3 separate regions of the Homo sapiens genome follow, and regions 1 and 3 are each linked to region 2. The links are contacts of gene promoters, found by promoter capture Hi-C in blood cells and fetal thymus (Javierre and others, 2016). All regions are on one chromosome and are shown on one strand. The core of a region is centred on a gene start or on the middle of the fragment in contact, and the rest is flanking DNA. Distances in the headings are between cores, read along the strand shown.

Region 1 (2,700 bases), core at 188-2,687, 480 kb after region 2:
TTTTTTTACCTTCACTCCCCACAGAGCCTGGGACTCCTTTCTCCGCTGACCTGGGGCAGCCAGTCTTGCAACCAAAGCCCTCTGCTGAAACGCTCCGTGCAGCCCTGTCTACTGAGGGCTCAGGATCTTCACCTTGCTACTTGACCAGTCCTGGGACTCCATCCTCAGCTCACTACAGGCAACACCCTTCAAAGCAAGATCCTTGCTTCAATGGGACCTCAGATTTGGACATTCAGGGTAAGCCACATCCTCTCAAGGCTGTTTAGGGCCTTCAAGGCGTGACAGCAGGGGTGGGACTATAGGGGACCCCACTGCTCTGCCTCAGGGTTCTGAACCTGGCTCAGGGTGGGACCTCCAACTCTTTGGGACGCGACTCAGGTCGCTCCACTGACCTGAGTCAGCCAGGCCCAGGCCCAAGCTCTCACGTCCCAAAGTTGCTAGAGGGAAAAGTCACGGCATGCCCCGTCTGGCTATGCCTGCACGGGGTCTCCCAGAGCTGACAACAGGGCAGCAGAAACCTGGCTCTCTGGCTCTCCCTGGCTCTCTTGCTTTTTCCTTTTTTTTTTTTTTCTTTGTGACAGACACGGGGTCTCACTCTGTCGCCACGCTCATGGCGTGACCATGGCTCACTGCAGCTTCGACCTGCTGGGCTCAAGCGATCCTCCTGCCTCAGCCTCCCGAGTCGCTGGGGCCACAGGCGCCGGCCACCATGTCCCGCTAGTTTTTGTTCTTTTCTTTCTTGGAGAGAGAGGGTCTCGCTTTGTTACTCAGACTGGTCTGGAACTGCTGGGCTCGGGTAATCCTCCCGCCTCAGCCTCCCAAAGCACTGGGATCACAGGTGTGAGCTACCATGCCCGCCTCGTGGGCCTCCCATGTTTGGGAGAGGTCTCCTCATCAGCATCAGGGACCTCATTTCGATTAGGGCCTAGGAGTCCATCCCTCTGCAGAATCGAAGCCTCACCCTCACACCAAACCCTCCCCTCCCTGGTGCCCTCTCAGAAGTCAGTGCCACAGCCTGACTGGAGCCTCCCGCGGCTGAGGGAGGTGGGTACCCGGGGGCGGGGGTTGGGGGACACAGGGTGGTCGCCTTGGCTGCGTGTGGTGGGCCTTTCAGTCCACGATCAGGGTCCTTACCTTGATACCCAACCAGTCTTGGGGTTCTGGTAGCCTGAGGTGGCGTCCCTCAGACGAAGATCCTCACTTCCGGCAGCTTCCCAGGCGGGCGGATGTCGGAGTGAGCCACATCCAATCAAGTCCCTGCTGGGTCTCCCAGGGCTGAAAGCGGGGCGGGGCTCTGCTCGGGCCCCCTTTTTGCATAGAAGTCCTCTCCAGTGTACTCAGTGTCCTCTCCGGGACTCCAATGAGTGTCCAGTTCTCCTCCCTCAGCTGAACTGTGCTTTTGCCTTTAGACAGAGTCACTACCCTCGTTAGAGCATCTAAGCAGAAAAAAAGGGGTCCTCAGCTGAGGTCTTTGCTATGGCTGACAAGATTAAGCATTTTTTTATTTTTGTTTTTATTTTTTGCTGATAACCATTCCCTTATGTCACTCTCGGTCCTCACCTTGATTCGAGTCAGTTTCTGGGGCTCCACTATGCACAGCTGGGGCTTCCCCCACCAGACCAAGATTCTCCCTTCCCTGAGACCCTCCAGGCCGAAATGACAGTCACCTCAACCTGACAGCTCTTCCTGAGCTTCCCAAGTCACAGGAGAGGTAAGGATGGTGTGACAGGAGTGGGGATGGGATGGTGTGGCAGCGGCGGTGCAGGGAAGGGGAGATGTGGGTTGGTGGAGGTAAGAGTTTTTGTGTCTTCCTCTGTTCTAGTATGGATGTGTGGTTTTCTAATTGCTCCCTGAAATTCCTCACCTTGACACCTGACTGACTAGTCCTGGAACTCGATCCTCATGGGACTTGAGGCTGCTCCCCTCTGATCAAGGTCTTCACCTTCCTGGGACTACAGAGTTGTAATCAGGATGAGCCAAATCTACCAATGACTATTCCAGAACGACAAGGGCTGTCAGCCAGGGCAGGACTCTATGGGACCCCACTGTTCTGGCTTGTTCCTTCCTTTATTCTTAATTCAGGGTCATCACCTTGGTATCTATCAGAAGCTCACAGTCCTTCCTCTACTGACCTGAGTTTGTCTTCCTGAAATCTCTCATGCTCCTGAGAACCTTGAAGGATAATTGTGGAGATGCTCAGCCTCAGCCCTGCCTGTGGCCCTCTAAGTCTGAGAGCAGCCACAGGCTGGTCTCTGTTGGACCTCCAATATTCTGGGATGACGGTATCCTCAGTCCTCCTACATGGGGCTTCACATCTTGGTTCCTGTCTCATTAATTCAAGGCTTCCTGGGAAATGCCAAATCCCTGCAATCTCTTTAACAGTTTTTCTTCCGCAAACTTTGCAGAGAATGGCTCCTTGCCCTGAAGTGATGAGAGATCAGGAAGTTGTAGCTCAAGGCAGGGGGCCCAGGACAAGTGGTGGGTGGTCAAAATAAAGCCAGTTGGTCTATTCCATTTCTTTACCAGCCAGACTTTGCCTCTGCTGTAACTTTGGTTCTAATAGATTGGCTTTCTCCAAGGAAGGGTAGGGCCACATGATTCTGTGAGTCCCCAATCTTTTCAGGTGATCTGACATCACATATGTAGATGATCATGTGGTCACTGAGTATTGTCTCTTTCTTTTCCTTATTCATAGCTCTC
Region 2 (2,700 bases), core at 94-2,593:
TGCAGTCCTCTTTGTTTTCCTAAAGCCTGGCACAGAAGTACTGAATCCATGCTGAAGGCCTTATTGGGTTTGCTTGGTGACTTGTGGGTCTTCCAGGCATAACTTGGCATTGCTTCCATTTATTATGGCTAGTCCTGCAGAGTCCTGTGCTGAGGCTGCAGGAGGGATAGAAGGCTTGGCCCTTGTTTTCTGAGAGCTTGCCTTCTGAAATGTGGCCTGACTTAAGGGGAAGAAACCCCACCTGCATGTGTCCTCCCTCAAGCGACGGTCCCTATAAGGCTCTACCGGAGTCCTCTCCCCTCCCTCCCTCCCCTCCCACCATCAGTCCCATTAAGTGGGCTCTGCGGATGGCCACTTACTTTGAGTAAACTGGGGAATTCAGCCTGAATCAATAGCTTCAGTTCATCCTTTGACAACTGGTCTGGATCACCTTCTTTGGCTGCATATTTTTCAAAAATCCTCTTCAGTTCCTCAGGAGACTTTTTAGTACTCATTCTGGTGTCTTATAAATTGGGAAGAAAATAAACTTACCAAAAAGCTGAAGTACAGTTTTGTGCTGAGGGTTGTCTGCAGGATTTTAGTGCCATTGGGCCATTTCCTTGGCATAAATGGGGAAGAATAAGGAAAAGAGAATGTCGGGGTCGGAATGGCACCAGTAACTACTAACATGTTTAAAAAATAAGCATCTTAGGCCAGGCACGGTAGCTCATGCCTGTAATCCCAGCACTTTGGGAGGCCAAGGAGGGTGGATCACTTGAAGTCAGGAGTTCGAGACCATGGAAGCCTGGCCAACATGGTGAGACCCTGTCTCTATACAAAAATTAGCCAGGCGTGGTGGTGCGTGCCTATAGTCCCATCTACTTGGAAGACCGAGGCAGGAGAATCGCTTGAACCCGGGAGGCGGAGGTTGCAGTGAGTGCGATGCCACTGCACTCCAGCCTGGGTGACAGAGCGAGCCTCCGCTGCAAAAAAAAAAAAAAAAAAAAAAAGACATCTTAGATAGTATGTTAAATGTCTGTTCTTAGAGTACATCTGTTAGGAGATGGTCCCTGGAGCCAAACATTTTTATTAGTAATTAATGACATTCTACACTTTTTATGTACCTGATCTGCACTCTGCAGGCTGTGGTCTTGAAGAATACTTGACCACAGCTTCTAGCTTCTAAGTTACAGGGAATATCTCCAGATGGCATAAACTCACCTTCTCTCCAGACCATTATCTTTCACACCATTCTAAAAGGAAGCAGAGTATTAATGCAAACAGAAGGAGCTCTAGGTAGTACCAAAATCACACTAACCTGGTTGCCCAATAGTGAAACAGCTAGAAGAATCAAAGAGGAGTTTGAAGAGCTGAGCAGAATCATGACACTTTTATAGTCTTTACGGGCACGCCACCCTGATTATGAAAATTTCCTTTTGTTGGCCATTTAAGGGTAATTATTAATGGTTTTTGAAACTCAGGCTTAAGACTGCATGAACCCCATAATTAAGGGCAAGATCCAGTAAAGGTCCATCTCGACAGTTGCTTCATGGTTCAGAGTCGTAAGCTTGGATTTTTTTCCCCCTGAGATTATATTTTCCCTCCAATGTAGAATTATATTTGCTCACAGTTCACATTTCATAAAGCTTAGATATAGAGGATTCTTTTCAATTTAGTTGCATATTTAGGCTTTAAAAAATAACTTTCTTCATATCCAGAAAAAATAAATGCTGCCCTGTGCGGTAGCTCATGCCTGTAATCCCAGCACTTTGGGAGGCCGAGGCAGGAGGATTGCTTGAGGTGAGGAGTTTGATACCAGCCTGGTCAACACAGCAAGACATTTCTACTGAAAAATTTAAAAAATCAGCCAGGTGTGATGGTACATGCCTGTAGTCCCAGCTACTGTAGAGGCTGAGGTGGGAGGATTCCTTAAGCCTGGGAGGTTGAGGCAACAGTGAGCCATGATTGTGCCACTGCACTCCAGCCTGGGTGACAGAGTGAGATCCTGTCTGTAAAAAAGAAAAAATGCTGTCATAGAAGGACAATATTACATAGTTTAAAAAATTACGGTATGGCCATTGAAGTCCTTCTGATGTCTTTACATATTAGCAGCTTAAATATTTGAATACATGAATGAATGAATGGAAGTATTGCTTCAGAAGCAGGTTTAAGAAGTGGAAAGAAGATACTCAGTAATTTGTGGTTTTATTTGGCAAATCAATATTGAGTAACATGGTCATTTTTTCAGCTCTTTCATTATTTGTTGGTCCTGTGTCTGCTTTTTATTTCTCATTATCCTTTTCCTTACCAAATATATTTCGTGATCATTCGAAAAACTTGTGAGAACACTCGACTTACTCTTGTTCAGTTGGAAATACTTCAAACTTTTTGTAACTGCCATGATTTAAAATTGCCAAGGAGATTGATTTCTACTGGAAAGAGTTCCATGAAATAAGTAGGACATTTCCAAGGGACATTGATCTAATGCTGATTGTAACTCACAGGAAGGGGTTCCAGGTGGATTTTAAGAGCACTTTACAGCTTTGAAACACTTGTACACTTCCACACTTATAGAATTTTCCCTGACTCTGCCTTATATCACCTACAAACTGAGGACTGGACTATTGGGACTGTATTTCTCCCTGATGTTTCTCAGCTCTAAAATTCTAGGGCCTTATTTACATTGGAGAACAAATGGGAAATCTAATAGAATTCCTTAAA
Region 3 (2,700 bases), core at 183-2,682, 510 kb after region 2:
CTGTGGGGTTTGGTTTTGTCTATTTTGTTTCAGCAGGAATATTTTTAAGCCACTTGCCCATTTGAAGAGGTTACTTTAATTAAAACTAGATTATGCACAACAAGCATCACTTGGCGATGCCTTCCCTTAAGCTAAAAGTGCAAAGAAGAGTAAGGGTGTCCTATTTGAGCCTTCTAGATAGTGGGCCACTCACTCCTGCTGCCTGAGCCACATGTGATAAGGAATCCTCTGATGTGGGTGAGCCTCAGTTTGGATACTACATATTACTCATGTTTAATTCATCCTTCTATTAAAATAAAAATCAATATAAATAGAGGCTTTGGTACTTTCCTCCCTTATCTCTCAGATCAGGCCACACCTCTCCGGGAGCATGTGAAGTTCACTTTGGGGTTCATTGTCCCAGAAGACACTTTCCAGAAAACTTGGCTAAGGTTTCAAAGGTTCTCTTCACCCCCATATACACGCCTTGCAGTTCCCTATGGCCTGAGGCCTAGAGCAGTGTCTGGGCTCCTTAAAATATTCAGAGGCCTCAGGGCCAGCAGTGGTCATCTGAGTGAGACTTTGACCTTAGAGCCAAGGTGAAAAATGGCACCAGTGAAGGACTAGAAACCAGAGGCTGGAACAAGGCTAGAGAAAGAGCTACTGACATTGAGAAGGTACTGATCCTGGGATATGAGGGATGTAGAAGCTTAGGGATAAAATGGAAAGAGAGATGCAATTAGTTGTTGGACATCTTATGGCACTTTCTCATAAGGAGTTGGGCAACTATTGACCCTTGGGCCAAAAATGAGTTTCAGCAGAGTGATCCAATTTCAAAGCTCAATGCTAATCCTGTAAGGGAGCCCATCAGAAAGGTATATGCAGGATGAAATATTACAGTTACCAGTGGATATGTTTGAAATGACAAAGGAAAGTAGTAATCCATTTAATTTCAGTAGGTGTTCAAACATCCTGGCACACATTGTTCATTCCTCAAAAATGTTATGGAGGAAGAACATGTATTTATAACTTGTTAAAATTTTATGAGCCAAAATGTTTGAAAAACATTTCAAAATCCCATTTGCAAATTGTAGTTAGACACAGCCTGCAATTACTTTACTGCGTAGCAAAGAAGATACACAGAGAACGGGGGAAAAAAACAAATCACGAAGACAAAGAAAAATTAACCGTGCTCTAGGTGGAAGGGATAATAGATTCAGGGTCATAAATTGCCTTTGTAAATTGTCGTTCACCTCCAAACAGACCCCGAGGCAAGGATTTAGGTGCAAGTAATTTATTTGGAAGAAGATGCCAGGAAGCACAGGGAGGTAGAAAAAGCCAGTAAAGGGCACCACGGTGGGCAACTGGGGCACATTCTTGCTGGGAATCCCCTGAGAAACCACAGTTAACACGTTCCAGAACTGTGCCACCAAAGGATGAGGTGGGTGGGGTGTTTACCCACCAACTCTCATCTCTGGTTGACAATTGTCTGTTGGTGGTAATTCTGGGGCACTTCAGCCTACCCCAAACCTTTCCTTGGCCAGAGATCACCCTTGGTCAGAGAAACACAGGAAGCCCAGCCCTCTAAGTGACCTCTGAGTTGTGCCAGGGGATATGGACACCCTCACTATGTACATTTTTTCTCCTGATCCGGTCAGTTTATCAAACACATATATAGAAAATGAAATATCACAGATAATTTTCAGTTTTTAAATATATTTCAAATCATTAAGGATAAAAATGGAACTTCTAAATTATCATAATAAAATACATTATCATTTTTTTCCAAAATAAGAATCATTACAGCTCAAAAATACCATCATGGCATATGAGTCACTGTGTCTAATTATAAAAATTTAACAGCACTAGATTTAAATAAATGTTTGGGAAAGGTTTTATAAATGGTGAAATGGTGACCCAACTTTGTAGCTTACTGGGACCACTGGCCCAGGAGGTTGATCCTGGCAGTGCTGGTGAGGCATCACCATATGGTGCAGAGGTCCAAGACGGGGAGAGAGGGACTGGATGAAGACTGGGAACCCTGCACTCTAGTCCCACTTCTATGATTAACTGTTTTTGTGAAAGCATGTTGTCTCCGTTTCTTTTTATTTTTTGTTATTTAACAAAAACTTACATAGTACTCACTGTGTGCCTAGCACAAAGTTCTCGACACTTTTCAAGAATTAGAGGAAGCTTTCCCTCTGCCCCTACATAACAATACTAGAAGATAGGTATTACTATTGTCATCTTTTTCTTAACACATGAAGAAACGAAGGCACTGAGAGGTTAAGTAACTTGTTCACGGTCATACAGCTAGCAAGTGGAAGAGCTGGGGTTTAAACAGAGACCATCTAGCGTCTGAGTCCATACTTTAAACTGCAAGATTTTGATGCCTCCATTTTCTTCATCTGTGAAACAGAGCTAAAGATACCAATCTTACTTAGTATGATGAGGATTTAAATGAGCTAAATTTTTCAAACGCACTTTGAAAAACAGCATTATTTAAATCAGGGGTGCCCAATCTTTTAGCTTCCCTGGGCCACACTGGAAGAAGAAGAATTGTCTTGGGCTACACATAAAATACACTAACGATAGCTGACAAGTAAAAAAAAAAAAAATCTCAAAAAAATCTCATGTTTTAAGAAAGTTTATGGATTTGTGTTGGGCCGTATTCAAAGCCATCCCGGGCCGCAGGTGGTCCGCAGGCTGCGGGTTGGAAAA

Evidence for each region. The method cuts DNA at HindIII sites, captures the fragments that hold promoters and counts their contacts. A CHiCAGO score of 5 or more calls a contact.
Region 1: the fragment with the promoter of MAGEB17 here is called in contact with the fragment with the promoter of S100G in region 2 in 2 of 17 cell types (non-activated CD4 T cells and naive CD8 T cells); the score reaches 5.4 in non-activated CD4 T cells.
Region 3: a fragment that was not itself captured here is called in contact with the fragment with the promoter of S100G in region 2 in 1 of 17 cell types (naive CD4 T cells); the score reaches 5.6 in naive CD4 T cells.

Annotation. Positions count from the first base shown.
Region 1 is chrX:16,166,218-16,168,917 of GRCh38, reverse strand. MAGEB17 (MAGE family member B17) reads right to left here and starts at 1,437. Exons shown (of 2, transcript NM_001277307.2): 1 at 1,135-1,437. It overlaps MAGEB17-AS1 (MAGEB17 antisense RNA 1), which reads left to right and starts at 239. Exons shown (of 5, transcript NR_187144.1): 1 at 239-1,711. RefSeq lists an enhancer at 1-702. The HindIII fragment of the contact is 6,177 bases long and covers 1-2,700 here.
Region 2 is chrX:16,648,801-16,651,500 of GRCh38, reverse strand. It overlaps S100G (S100 calcium binding protein G), which reads right to left and starts at 1,343. Exons shown (of 3, transcript NM_004057.3): 1 at 1,298-1,343; 2 at 360-502. The coding sequence starts at 494. The region is part of intron 13 of CTPS2 (CTP synthase 2); the gene reads left to right. The HindIII fragment of the contact is 12,685 bases long and covers 1-1,548 here.
Region 3 is chrX:16,139,359-16,142,058 of GRCh38, reverse strand. The region is part of intron 1 of GRPR (gastrin releasing peptide receptor); the gene reads right to left. Among named protein-coding and RNA genes, the nearest start is that of GRPR, 17 kb to the right of the region's middle. The HindIII fragment of the contact is 1,484 bases long and covers 691-2,174 here.